5 separate regions of the Homo sapiens genome follow, and regions 1, 2, 4 and 5 are each linked to region 3. The links are contacts of gene promoters, found by promoter capture Hi-C in blood cells and fetal thymus (Javierre and others, 2016). All regions are on one chromosome and are shown on one strand. The core of a region is centred on a gene start or on the middle of the fragment in contact, and the rest is flanking DNA. Distances in the headings are between cores, read along the strand shown. Region 1 overlaps MFAP3 (microfibril associated protein 3). Region 2 overlaps GALNT10 (polypeptide N-acetylgalactosaminyltransferase 10). Region 3 holds the start of FAXDC2 (fatty acid hydroxylase domain containing 2). Region 4 has its middle 41 kb from the start of MFAP3. Region 5 overlaps FAM114A2 (family with sequence similarity 114 member A2).

Region 1 (2,700 bases), core at 78-2,577, 800 kb before region 3:
TCATACTTGAATTACTCAAATTTTGAGCTCCATGGTTATGATTATGATATGCCAGTTGATTTACATTATAACAACAGATGGTAATGGTGCAGGTTGAAATAAAAGATCATTAAGATAAATATTTTAGCCTTCATTGGCTCCCTGTTGCATAAAATTTGTCAGAATGAAATAGAATCATGGCATTTCAGAATTGGAAGAGTCCTTAGAGATTATCTCATCCAGTCCCTTATTTGACAGAGGAGAAAACAGAAACCCAGAGAGAATGCTGCTTGCCAAGGTCGTACAGCTAGTTAGTGGCAAAGCTAGGACCAAAATCTAGGTCTGCTATTTACCAATTCATTGCTTTTTCTGCTGTCTCTGTGTGAGATTTTTAGGTACTGTTCCATCTAATTACTCCCCAATGTCAGCACCAATTATTCTAATTAACATCTATTCATTCTGGAACATACGCACTTTCACCCCATTATGAATCTCAGTTGGTTAAACTTTGTATCTGGCTTTCTTTTAGGTTCTCTACTCACATCTTTTAATCTTGAAGACTAGAAAATATAACTGGATCTACCACTTGTTTGGAAAATTTCTCTACCAAGCAATAAATTACCCGCTGTGCTTTTGTTGTAGTGTAGAAGTTTTTGAGTTCTCCAAATCTAAACAAGATTTTGTCCCATTTTCCCATGAAGCTACATTGTTGCTTATTCACTTTAGTGGCAAGTATTATTGTGCCAGCTGCTTTTGTTTTGGAAGATGTGGACTTCGACCAAATGGTTTCACTGGAAGCAAATCGTAGTTCTTACAATGCATCCTTTCCCTCAAGCTTTGAACTCTCAGCAAGTTCCCACTCGGATGATGATGTCATCATAGCCAAAGAGGGAACTAGCGTTTCAATTGAGTGTCTTCTCACAGCCAGTCACTATGAAGATGTCCATTGGCACAATTCAAAAGGACAGCAACTGGATGGCAGAAGCAGAGGTAATTGGTCAGGGTATAATTAATCAAGGTTACTCATTTCCTGTTCTGTCTTCTTATTTTTTAACACGTTAAACAAAAAGTCTCAAAGATAAGGTGCCAAGGTGAATAGTTTAAAACATTTGAAAGGTCTGGAGTGTTGTACCTATCAGAAAATGCAAAGTAATTATAATTGTTTAACCAGAAGAAGAAAAAAAAGAATCATTCTAAATTTAAAAGATGTTCACATGATGACAATGAGCTATTTTCTCTCCTGATCAGTTGGTTTTCTTCTTCATTGAAGGTAGAGTAAATCAGGGCTGCTGCATACAGCTGTACAGGTGGTATACAACACAACTCTGGGAGCACCCTTCACCTAGACTACTATGTCAGTAGTACAGTGTGGTGGCCCTGTGTGAATACATCCAGAAGGTTTTTGGCTAGACTTAAGAAAATTTGTTATAAATAAAAAAGTTTTGCTCTGAAATTAGTTACTATAAACTTTAGAGGAAATCCAGGACATTTTTGAAAATGAGTATCAATCTGTGCATAAAACTTTGACGTCAGGTCTCAGAGAATTAGAAGGGCACTATGGAACTTGTAAGCCCTTCCAGCTCTTTTTTTTTTTTTTTTTTTTTTGTATTCTATACCTTAATTTACTGGAAATGAGAAATTTTTTTTTGCATTTTTTGTTTATGTCTTAAAAATCACATAAACATAGTGTGTTCAAGGTCTACTTTTTGACAGATTTTTATTTAATTTTCCTATTCATGGATCTGTGAATATATCTTAATCCAGACTACTCCTAACCAGTGTTCTGTTATAAAGATCTTTTTGATGAGTACTTGAGTTATAATGGACCTCAAAAAGAAATCACCATGAAAAGCCAAAGGGATGAAGCTTAAATTCTAAGATCCTCACAAGCTACACTTTCAGAAATTTTTTTGTTAGGAAGATAGTGTAGCCTTCTGAAATAGAAAAGGATATTGGTTATTCATATTAGGCTGGAAAACACAAAAGGAGACAGGTGATACTTCCTTCAGACATATGCACTATTTTAATCTATAGACTGAGTGACTAGTCACCAAGGGATTGAAGAGTTTGAATTGTTAGGGTATTTTTAATCAGCATGTTTAAAATACATAACTATTGAATTAGAGTGATACCTGGAATGTGTACTTTGAACATGATTTGGGGTTCCATATTTGAACCCACTGAACCAGACTCCTATCTTCTCTGGGCTCTACGATATCCTGACCAAACACCTCTGAGATCTGAATTATTCATTCAGTGTCATCACTGTAGACTGACTGCATAAACAAAGCCTTAGGTTAAAACAAGACCAGCCAAGTGGAATGGCAGTTTTATTTTTCTATTTTGCCTTTACTTTGAAAACCACTAACATCTATCATTGATGCTTTCAGCAGCAGCTCTGGAAAATTGTATTAAATTTTATGAATCTCAAGTGAGAGGAGTTTAAAGAGCATGTCAGTCTAGTATAAGGTTCATAAATCTTGAGCTATTATCAGCAAGTGAGCTAGAGAGTTTAGATTGTGGTTGTAGTGCAATGGTTGATGAATGGAGTCTTTGTAGTTCATCATACCTTGGATTCAAGTGGTGTCGTTTTCATAGCTCTAAGTTCATAGAACAGAAGCTTATGGAAAATGGCTATATTCATAACTACATGTTTTCCTCTTTTTGTATTAGTGAAGTGATGGCTTTTAAATATATTAATACCTATAGGATTGAGATAAG
Region 2 (2,700 bases), core at 35-2,534, 650 kb before region 3:
TTCATACTTTGGAAGCTAGAGGAAGCTAAACAATTCTGCTTGCTGTGGTGGGTGGGTGTGTATTTATGCGTGTGTAGCTTTCTCTCCATGTGTCTCTCTTCTCTCCCTCTTATCTTTGAATGGTTCCTGTTTGCTGCCCTCTGCTGAGTGTAGATAGGAGAGAAAAGAAAAAAGCAGGCCTATTTTTTTCCTTCCCTATGGCTTTAAGAGAATGCTGAGCTTCAGATGTTAAATTGTCTTCAGTTTTCTCAGGTGATGAAAGCCACAGCATAAAATGATACTGATCCAAAGAATGATGATGATATGGCTGATAATGAGGTTGATAATGTTAATAGTAGTAATAGCAGTTACCATTTATTTAGCACTTACTCTGCTAGGTCCTTTACCTGTACATCTGTTAAATATTGTTGTAACCAGGTAGGAAAGAAGGAGGGAACTGAAGCTCGAAGAGGGGCAGGTGCTTGCCCAAGGATGCACAGCCTGTAGTGGTGGAGCTGGTATTTGAACTCTGACCTAGTGCTGAGTCCTTAACCACCATACTTCCTCCATATCTGAGCAGGACAAAGGACCTGTCTTCCACCCCTGCCCGTTAAGCCCTTCCTGCAAGCCTGGACATCTGAGCAGGTGAGAGGGACCATTGCCCTAAGACAGCCTCTTCAGTAGCTGAAGTGGAGCACATAAGGTCATGTGGTGGTGGTGTGTGCTGGAAGAGAAACCTCTACCTCAGCCTCCTCCTGTCTCCGTTCCTCTTGGTTTGAGGCATGTGGGGCTGCGTATAGTGCTCTAGCTTTGGAGCTACACTGCCTGATTCAAAACCCGAGGCTTGGGCAAGCTTGACCTGTGTGCCTGGAATTCTTGGTCTGTAAAATGGTAGTAATGTTAACTGTGGCAGAGAGTTCTCTTGAGGGTTCAGTGAGTCACTGTGGGTAAAACCCCAAACACAATGCTTGGTACAGAACAAGTGCTTGGTAAACATGGTGATGCCGCTGCCTTTGTGAAGTGCCTCGCCTATGGCAGGGACTCAATTCTCTGTGGCTTCCCTTTGGCGGAGGTAGGGAGGGCTGCATAACATTGTCTTTGTCTAGAAGGTGAGCAATTCGAAGATAAGTGGTTGGCTTAACAGCACAGGGTTCAGAAGAACTGGAAGAAGCCAGGTGGGTGCAGTCTCTGATTATTGGAGGTGGGAAGGAAATTGTGCATGCAGAGGCTGCTCTTGGTACCCCTCTTCCTGAAACTTCGGAATGCGAAGCAATTGTTGGGGATGCCTTCTCAACTCCCACCCTGGGACAACCCAGACCCTCTGTATCCTTCTAGATTCAGCTCATAGCCTGCTGCCTCCAGGAAGTGTTCTTTGGTTACTCCAGCCCCCAGGGGTCACTCAAGGGTCTTAGCTCCTCTGAGCCTTGATTTTCTCATCTGCCTACTTAGATCAGAGGCCCTCTAGAAGATTTCTAACATCCTTCTTCCCTGCAGCCTTGCCCCTAGACCTGACTAACTCCTGCCAGGGCAGCCTAGGTTAGCATTCTTCCCAACCAGGGCCCGGAGACCTGTATATAAATCTGTCACGCAATGCTGTAATTGTTTTTAATCTGTCCAGACTGTCTGCTTCCTAAAGGCAGGAACTAACCTCTCTCTTGGTCACTCTTGTTTGCCTAAAATATTTGCTGAATGGCTGAGGGGGTGAGTGAGTAAGTGAATCATATGGTTGGTACTCAGTAACTGCTGGCTGCATGCTGGAAGCTTAGCCTTAGGAATGGTTCTTCTTGAACTTCAGGGTGCTTCACAATCCCTAGGGAGCCTGTTAAGGATGGTGACACCAGGATCCATGCCCAAAGAGCATGAAGGGGCTGGTTTGGGCTTGGCCAAGGATCACATATTTAACAAATCCTACTGAGGGTCCAACAGGGAACTCCTCTCCACCCACCTGACAGGAGACAGACCTCTCTTTCCCCAGGGACCCACTCCATTCTCCCCAGGAGTGCTTCAGGACCCGCCCTTGAACTTCTGTTCCTGGGAAGTGTGTTTATCTGCAGCTTCCCAAGTTGTCAATCAGCACCCACAGGGGAGCTCTGTGGTACTTTTAGCAGTGGCACTGTATCTGATGCAAGCAGATCAGGCTCCAGTTCAGGACAGGGATGGGAGGTGCACTTTGGAATCCCTCTCCTGTGGGCTGCGAGGATTGGCTGGGGCGGTAGAGCTTTATTTTCCTTTGATGCCCACAGTCTGCTGCTCTTCCAGGATGCGTGCTCTGCCTTCCTGCCATGGGCAAGGATGAGGTAGGTGCCTCTACGTGGGTGTTGGGCTGAACTAGGGGGTCTCTTGGGAAGGGTTAGTATTGTGGAGACCCTGTAAACCTCTCCCTTGTACTGGAGAGAGCAGAGGAGAGAGTGTGGAGTTGGGAACCAATGTGACCTGATCCTCAGGCCCAGCTCTGCCACTTGCTGGCTCTGTGCCTGACCTCTGGGGCTTCCTGCTCCTTCTCCTAAAATGAGCAAAGTCATCACTACTTCCTAGTGTCATGGTGATGATTAGATGAAATTAAATAACAGTTGTGAGGATTGAGGTACAGAGAGGTCAGGTAACATATCCAGGGCCACGCAGCTAGGAAGTGATGGAAACAGGATTCCAATCCAGCTGGGATGCTTCCTTCCGGTATCTGCGCCAGCCACTGACTGGATGGTCTGGGGCGAGTCTGTGGGT
Region 3 (2,700 bases), core at 126-2,625:
TGAAATCGCGCCACTGTACTCCAGCCTGGGTGACAGAACGAGATTCCATCTCAAAAAACAAAAAAAACAAAAACAGAAGATGAAATGCATGAAAGGAAAGGTTAAAAATGATTCCCATGGGCCAGTTTTAGTAATACTCTCTTCACTCCTTTTGCTGCATGGTACTTGCACCCTTTGAGCTTACTGTTCTGCTTGATTGCATGTCCATGAGGCCGAGAATCTGCCTGTCTTGTTTACCACGAGATCCACAGAATCAAGCCCAAGCCTGGCATGTAGAAGATACTCAAGAAAGATTTGCCGAATAAATAAGAGATACACGAATCAAAAGCATTGCTTTTTGCCCTCAAAAAGTGTTCAACATTTGCTATGGAACATTTTAGCACCATTCCCTTGTGCTAATTACTTTCGTAACTAAAGTTAGAAGCTGATGCTCAGTGCATCTGTGTTTTAGCAAATTGAATTGAATCTGTATATCCCACTCAAAGAAATTTAATTGGAATTGCACATGAAACTGAAGCAACCCACAAATCAGCATCTTGTCTTGCTTGCCTTAAGCCCCAGAAGGTCCTGAAAGCCACTGTTCTATTGTTCATCTCCACCTACACACTTTACTGTATGCCCTTTACTCAATAACCTTCGTGGAGTGTTTCCATAGGTACTATCAAGCCACTAACGATTTCACAACTGGAGCCACTGTTGGTAAATCCAAGTATGTTGCATCAAAACAGTTTCAACCTACTTGTCTAGCTCATAGCCCACACATCTATCCAGAGACTTTAAAACTGTTGTATTTTGCCCCATACCTTCCTGGTGATGGCAGAGTAGAGATGAGAAGCAATTAGGCAGCAGTTGCTTCCCAACAGTCTCTTCCAGTTTGTTCTGCCTCTCATTTGAGTTCTGAATTAGGAGTTGCTCCTTTACAAATGGTTTTAAAGTCAAACAATTACTTGTCCATTACAATCACCTGTCAATTGCTAGAAAAATTAGACTACTGAGGAGGTAGATGGTACAAACACAGGCAGAGGATACAGACATTAGTAAGAGACAAGGAGGCGACTGCACTACAGCAATGTCCTAGGACAAATTCTAACCCTGCCATCTAACCCTGTTTAGAGGCAAATCTAACCCTGCCATAAGTAGAGAGGACAGGGTGGTGGCAGAGGTGGGAAGAGTGTTGTTTTGCCCTTACTTTAAGTGAACCTGGACATGTCCTGACCTTTGCAAACACCACCCCTCCCCCGTAGTTCCCACTTACCTCTGCAGTGGGCTGTGTCCAAGCTGCTGAGGTCCTTGCACAGGTCAAATCTAAGTTCTCTTCCCTTTCAGCCCCCGCTTTGGTGGCTGTTGCTGCTGCGGCTCTGCTGCAGGCTAACCTTGTTTTTGCTCGGGTGGGAGGCTGGCCATGGTGATCTCATTACAGAGCTGCGTACTGGCTCGGACCAGGCACGTGATGAAAAAAGTTTGGGTCTGTGTGGGCTGGAAACAAAACACCCTTCTTTCCAGAGGGCATGTCCTTAAAGCGGAAAGGGAATCTAAGCTCAAGCAGGAACTTGAAAAACGTGCATTTGGCCAAACTCTGGGCTTCCCTCCCCCTGCCCCCTTTTTTTCTTTTAAAAAATTTTCTCCATCATCTGCAACTTAAGAAAATGTCGCTGTCCCATAGGAGGAGGCAGATTCAAGAAAAGATGTGGGTGTCAGATAATGGCAGGTAGTACAAGTTGATAAAAAGGTGACAGAGACCAGAGGATCTCATTTTCTTTTTTTTCATTGCTTCTTTTCCTGTGGAGGGCAGGCAAGGGAGGAGAGATGCATCAGCTATTTCTAGTGAGTCTAGATGCAGGAAAGGCATGCCTGTGGAGGGTAAATTTGCACTGTGATTGAAATAGGGGAACTTAGGATACAGGACCCATGACATGAAGTGAGGAGCACTTTGGAAAAAGAGCTGCTTTTAAATTTCTGAAAACTTTTTAAATAAGCAAATGTGCAAATGATATAAAATACAATAGGGTCAAAAGAATGTACAATGAAAAGTCTTTTTTTAATTTCTCCTCAGTCCCCTTTTTTTCCTCCCAAGAGACAACCTCTGTGACCAGATTTTTGTATATCCTTCCAGAGCTTACCTCTGTAAATAGAAACATGTGTAGGCCTTGTGCTTCTCCTTTAGCAACAGCACCATAGTATGTTTGTTGTGCACCTTGCTTTTTCCACTTAACAATCAAACATGGAGATTGGCTAGGCATGGTGGTGCTCACCTGTAGTCCCAACTATTTGGGAGGCTGAGGTTGGAGGATCACTTGAGCCCAGGTATTTGAGACCAGCCTGGGCAGCACAGGAAGACTCCTTTCTAAAATAAACAAAACTCAGAAACTTGGCTGGGCACGGCGGCTCACATGTATAATCTCAGCACTTTGGAAGACCAAGACGGGAGGATCACTTGAGGCCAGGAGTTCAAGACCAGCCTGGGCAATGTAGCAAAACCCCATTTCTACTACATATACAAAAAATTAGTAGAGCTTACTGGCACATGTCTGTTATCCCAGCTACTGGGGAGGCTGAGGTGGGAGGATGGCTTGAGCCCAGGAGTTGGAGGCTGCAGTGAGCTATGATTGTGCCCTGCACTCCAACCTGAGTGACAGAGTGGGACCCTGTCTCTAAAAAACAAAACAAAATAAAAAATGCCGGGTGCAGTGGCTCATGCCT
Region 4 (2,700 bases), core at 107-2,606, 770 kb before region 3:
CAAGAAAAGGAAGCATCATGATGACATGCAGCTGGCCCCAGGGTTTTTGGATTAGAACCAAATTTCATGTTTGTGGAACTGATGTCAATTTGCTGGCTATGTGACATTGGGCAAATTACTCCACCCCACTGAGCTGCAATTTCCTCCTGTGTAAAAAGAAAATAATACCCTTTGCAGGGTGAGCAGCAAACCCAAGTCATTCTAATTCCCAAGCCCATGCTTTTAACCTTTATTCTGCTTCAAGTTCAAGAGCTGTTTAGTCTCATGGCCATTTGGGCAGCAGTTAAGATGATAGCAGGTAGTGAGACCAAAGTTTCTGGACTAGAACCTACGTTTCAGGTGCATGGGATTGAATTCAAAAGATTGGGATTTGGGCTAAGGTATGAAGTATGACGCTACCTCATTCGAAAATAGTGTACAAAGCATCTGGCCTGTTTTTTGTTTTACATAACTATATCCCTGTAGCATAAACCATGGCCCACCAGCCAAAACCATCCTGCCACCTATTCTGGTAGCGTTTTACTGGAGCAGAGCTATGCCCATTAATATATGTATGCAATATGTCTGCTTCCTTGGAACTATGGAAGATTGAATTGTTGCAACAGAAACTGTATGGACTGCAAAGGGTAAAATAATGTGCTATCTGACCCTCTACAGAAAAAGGTTGCAACCCTGCTCTAGGGCATAATACCACTTTAAGTTTTAATAATGATAATTACAAGAATACGTGGTGCTGAGTGCTTACTCTATGCTGAGTGCCGTTCTATGGCTTTATATGTATATCTTATTTGTACTTGCAATAAATCCATGATATACACAATTATTCCTATTTTATGAGTAAGGAAACAGACAGAAAGAGGTTAAATAACTTGCTGGAGATCCAGTGGCTGGTAAATGGCACAGTTGGGATTCTAACCCAAGTAGTGTCAAGTATTACATTTCCTTGGAAGTTTGCAAACACATTTTCTTTCCTGATCAACTTGACCACTCATGATATGAGAGACAATTTTAGATGGTTCATAAACACCTTATTAAGAAACATCCTCTCCTATGGTGAGAAAGCCATTCCCTTTCAAGTTCACTTTAACATGACAAATCTCCCTTTTAACAGAGAGAGTGAACAGTCTTTTCACACACAGCAGTACCTTGCTAAAATTTAACTTCTAAATTAAACTTTTAAACTTAAATTTTAAATTATATTTAAAATTTAATATATTTAAAATGTATTGCTTCATTTCATAGCATGTATTTTTTGTGGTCACCTTTTATTTGTGGAAAACAATCCTTGTTTTCTCTTCACAGCAATTTCCTTTCAAAAGAAATTTATTTAAGGATAAAAAAATACAGTCGATTCAGATATTAAGACCATGTTAATAATGGTGCCGAGGGTGTGTAAATATGACACAAATCATGACCGTGGTACAGAAATGAATGACAGAGACCAGGCGCAGTGGCTCATGCCTGTAATCCCAGCACTTTGGGAGGCTGAGGCAGGAGGATCACTTGAGGTCAGGAGCCCAAAACCAGCCTGGCCAACATGGTGAAACCCCATCTCTATTAACAATACAAAAATTAGCTGAGTGTGGTGGCGCACACTTGTAATCCCAGCTACTCAGGAGGCTGAAGCAAGAGAATTGCTTGAACTCAGGAGGCAGAGGTTGCAGTGAGCTGAGATCGTGCCACTGCACTATAACCTGGGCAACAGAGCAAGACTCCATTTCAAAAAAAGAAAAAAAAAAAAAAGAAATGAATGACAGAGATAGGAAGCCCTGCCCAGAGCACTGGCCCAGGAGTAAGGTGTCGTAGCCCTCAGCCCAGCCAGCAGCAGTTTGGTATATGGCTGTGGACAGATTGTCCCCTCCCTGAGCTCAGATTCTCTATCTATTGAGTAAGGAGTTTAAATTAAATTATCTCTAACATTCTGTGGCATCCTAGTTTCTTCTTCTTGGCCTGGAATTTACTATACTTTAACTCGAGCCAATATTAAATGAGACGTGTTAGAGATCCACCCTTTCAAGCCCCGTAAAGACAAAGGACTCCACTGCACCCACTATGTCTTTTCCTCTTTGAGTGAGTCTATTAATTCCTATCTAGATTCCTGCCGAAAAAGGTGAGGAGATAAATGCATGTAGTGCAGGATTCAATTTGTGCTTCTTGCCTAGAAATTAAACAGGTCTGGGTTGGTCCAAGGTGTTTACAGGAGAAAGATAAGTTCTTTGACATGTCCTCATTCACAGCGATTCCACCTGGGCCCAGCAGGCCTTCTGATGGGTTTTCTCTCCCTTTGGAGGGCTCTGTGTCTGCTCACCCAGAGACAGCTGTGGCCATACCTCATGATGGCTGGGGAAAAAAAAAGAGAAGGATTTTTATGAAAAATTACAAGGTGCAGCACTGCAAATGGATGCCAAGCCTATATGAAAAGTAACCTGACTAGAAGCAGCAAGAGTGGAAAACCCCATTCTTCTCACATTTAAAAAAAGTTGTGGGGTAGAGGATGCCCAGGATAGGCCAGGTGCAATAACTTATCCTATTAATCTGCTATATTTAGTTCTTTTACCCCACATCAATCCTGAGAAGGAGTTATCATCATCATTTATTAATTTTATTACACTTTATAGTATAGATTAAGAAACTGAAATTCAAAAACATTTCATTTCTCTCATCAATACAGCCCTAATAGGTATAGGTATAATTGTTCCC
Region 5 (2,700 bases), core at 50-2,549, 840 kb before region 3:
AGAATCAAAGCCATGCCAGTGGCAATGAGTACACTTAGTACTCATGTCTTGGTCTATAAAACCAAAAGGGAATGAATCATGCTTTCTCAAAGAAATGTCTGGTTGCAGGGCTGGGGCACAGAAGGCATAAGATGAGTCTAGAATATCTTGTTATGCCAGAAAATAAGGAAGCACCCAAAAATGATGGAGGCATGCCACCTAGGAGCCAGCTTGAAAGACAAATTTGAACATCAAAATAATTAAGGACAGTGATGAATTACAAGCCAATGGGGGAAAAGCAGAACTCCATGAAAGCATACTGATAACAAATTAAAAAAAGAACAAAATGGGGGAGAAAGGAGAGGTCATGACTATTCTAGAATGCTGAAAGCCAACTGGTAAATCTTCACATTAAATATTGGTGCCAGAATCATAAATAAATGCTAGATTTAGAAGAGAAATTATGATGAATAGCAGGATATTTGTATGGTCTTACAGTATCTCCTCACAGAAAGTTTATTAGCAAGATAGGAAAATAAACTTTAACTGTACAGAACAAAATCAGACAACACATCACCAATAAGGGGCAGATGGATATCATGTACCTTTAGATGTGATACCCTGGGCAGGACACACCATCACTTATGGAGTATTTTGGCCAGGAATGTATAAACTGACATTAATCATGAGAAAGCATTAGAGAAACTCCAAAGCTTGTTTTTCAAAAACACCAACGTCATAAAAGACAAAAAGACAAAAAAAGACTGAAGAACTATTTTAGATTAAAGGAAACTAAAAGTACATGGCAACTAAATACAATCTGTGATCATGTACTGGCTCCAGTGGTAGAGGAAAAAGTTTGGTATTATTGGACATTATTGGGTCAACTGATGTAACTGAAATATGGAAAATAGATTACAACAAATTAGTACAACAAAAGTACTAATGTTAAATTTACTGAAGTTGATAGCTACACTGTGGTTATGTAAGGGAATATCCCTATCCTTAGCAGACACATACTGAAACATTTAGAAGAGCAATAATGTTTACAATTTACTCTCAAATAGTTACAAAAATAAAGTGTTTATCTATATATGTATACATGTATTTACACAGAGAAAGAACACATGTGAAAGCACAAATGTTTGAGCAAATGAAGTAAGTATTAACAGTACTGGATTTGCATAAAAGGTATACAAATATTGTTTGTGCTACTCTTGTAACTTTTCTCTAAGTTTGATATTATTTCCAAAATAAAAAGCACTATAAGATCAAAAGTGCTTTAGTAAAGTGTTACAGTAGAGGTGAGGGAGATGAGCTGCCTGGGGATGATCTAAAAGAGCTTTTTCAGAGAATGCAGCATTTTCGATGGGCATAGGAGAGTGGGATAACACACCAAACATCATAGTTTTTGCCCTGGGGGATGGAGACAAGGTGACTGGGTTGACTATGCAATAGCTCTCACCTCTCCCTGGCCAGGAAACAATGTGCACCTGCAGCTGACTGGTCCTGAAATGCTTCTCAAGATTGGTAGAGGTGGGTAAAGAGGTAGCAAGCAATCCATGACCCAGTGAACAGTGTCCCAAGAGCAGGCACTGGCTTATACTTGCCACAGAACCTCCCTACCCACTCTGAGCTTTGATTAAAGTCTCTCCACATTCCAAATATAAGAAAATAGTTCCAGAATCAGCACCAAAAATAAGGGCCTTGGTCATAATACTCTCTCATTTCCACACGCCAAATAGTCATTATCTGAGTCACTGGGCTCTGGGTAATGACAACCTCTAATCCCTATGGGCAAGGCCACATATCATCTCTAAATCATTCAGATCCCTGAGAACAGTGAGTCCTCGACAGAGGCTCACCCACTGGAATCATGAGGCTGGTCATCACTGCCAACTTTTAATGACCAACATTGTAGACTAAATTAAGCTTTCAGATAAGCAAAGCATCCCAAATGAAAACAGGTAAGGATGGGACACGTGTTGTGGGGCAGATGTGGCTTCAACACACTAACCTGGAGGAGCAGAAGGCAAGTAGATGCAGAACCCAATTCTGGGTATAACGAGAATATACCTTCGATTTTGGTGACACCTCTGCCAGGAATTTATAATCTTATGCTCTTTATCCACTACATTTTTACAAGTAAAATAATGAAAATCACCAAGAAGCAATAACTTACCCTGGCAAGTTTCTCTGGTTTGGAGGAAACGTGCAGCTGGGAAAACAGCTCTGTTATGTCCTTGGTAAAATCTTCATCCCCTAAAAAACCAAGTCCCATATAAAACACTCCAGAAAGACTGCTGAGGATCATGAGGTGGCAGGCGAGGAGGAAGAGGAGAGGAGTGGTAATAGCAGTGACAGTAGTAGTAATAACAATAGTAGCAGCAGTAATGTACATGAGCATGGTGCTTTAGTGCTTATAGAATCCTTTTACGTATATCAATAAATGCTTCAATGGGCTTGAGAGAAAAGTGCCATTATTCCATGTTAGAGATGAAGTGATAAAGGCTTGAAGACATTAAGTGACTTCCCCAAGACTGCATAGCAAAGATTAGTAGTCAAACCTTAGTCTTCCTACTCCCAGTCCAAACCCTGTGCTGTGCTTTTTGCATTATATCCAGAGCAAGAATATAGAAATGGTGACAGCATAGACTAAGCAAGTACTGTACATGCGCTTCCAAGAAAGTGGAGTTTAAGTTGGGACATCAAACTTGAGTA

The links. Contacts are between HindIII fragments. The CHiCAGO score rates a contact against its expected background, and 5 or more counts as called.
Region 1: a fragment that was not itself captured here is called in contact with the fragment with the promoter of FAXDC2 in region 3 in 5 of 17 cell types (M1 macrophages, activated CD4 T cells, naive CD8 T cells and 2 more); the score reaches 9.0 in M1 macrophages.
Region 2: a contact is called between a fragment that was not itself captured here and the fragment with the promoter of FAXDC2 in region 3, in 1 of 17 cell types (activated CD4 T cells). The highest score is 6.3, in activated CD4 T cells.
Region 4: a fragment that was not itself captured here is called in contact with the fragment with the promoter of FAXDC2 in region 3 in 1 of 17 cell types (neutrophils); the score reaches 6.9 in neutrophils.
Region 5: a fragment that was not itself captured here is called in contact with the fragment with the promoter of FAXDC2 in region 3 in 6 of 17 cell types (total B cells, naive CD8 T cells, activated CD4 T cells and 3 more); the score reaches 6.8 in total B cells.

The regions. Positions count from the first base shown.
Region 1 is chr5:154,049,049-154,051,748 of GRCh38, forward strand. MFAP3 (microfibril associated protein 3) reads left to right here. Exons shown (of 3, transcript NM_005927.5): 2 at 509-969. The coding sequence starts at 675. Among named protein-coding and RNA genes, the nearest start is that of MFAP3, 11 kb to the left of the region's middle. The HindIII fragment of the contact is 1,031 bases long and covers 813-1,843 here.
Region 2 is chr5:154,197,393-154,200,092 of GRCh38, forward strand. The region is part of intron 1 of GALNT10 (polypeptide N-acetylgalactosaminyltransferase 10); the gene reads left to right. Among named protein-coding and RNA genes, the nearest start is that of GALNT10, 8.0 kb to the left of the region's middle. The HindIII fragment of the contact is 908 bases long and covers 831-1,738 here.
Region 3 is chr5:154,849,228-154,851,927 of GRCh38, forward strand. FAXDC2 (fatty acid hydroxylase domain containing 2) reads right to left here and starts at 1,376. Exons shown (of 9, transcript NM_032385.5): 1 at 1,256-1,376. The HindIII fragment of the contact is 21,500 bases long and covers 1-2,700 here.
Region 4 is chr5:154,078,462-154,081,161 of GRCh38, forward strand. No RefSeq gene overlaps it. Among named protein-coding and RNA genes, the nearest start is that of MFAP3, 41 kb to the left of the region's middle. The HindIII fragment of the contact is 5,875 bases long and covers 1-2,700 here.
Region 5 is chr5:154,009,080-154,011,779 of GRCh38, forward strand. FAM114A2 (family with sequence similarity 114 member A2) reads right to left here. Exons shown (of 14, transcript NM_018691.4): 9 at 2,162-2,241. Among named protein-coding and RNA genes, the nearest start is that of FAM114A2, 28 kb to the right of the region's middle. The HindIII fragment of the contact is 1,219 bases long and covers 691-1,909 here.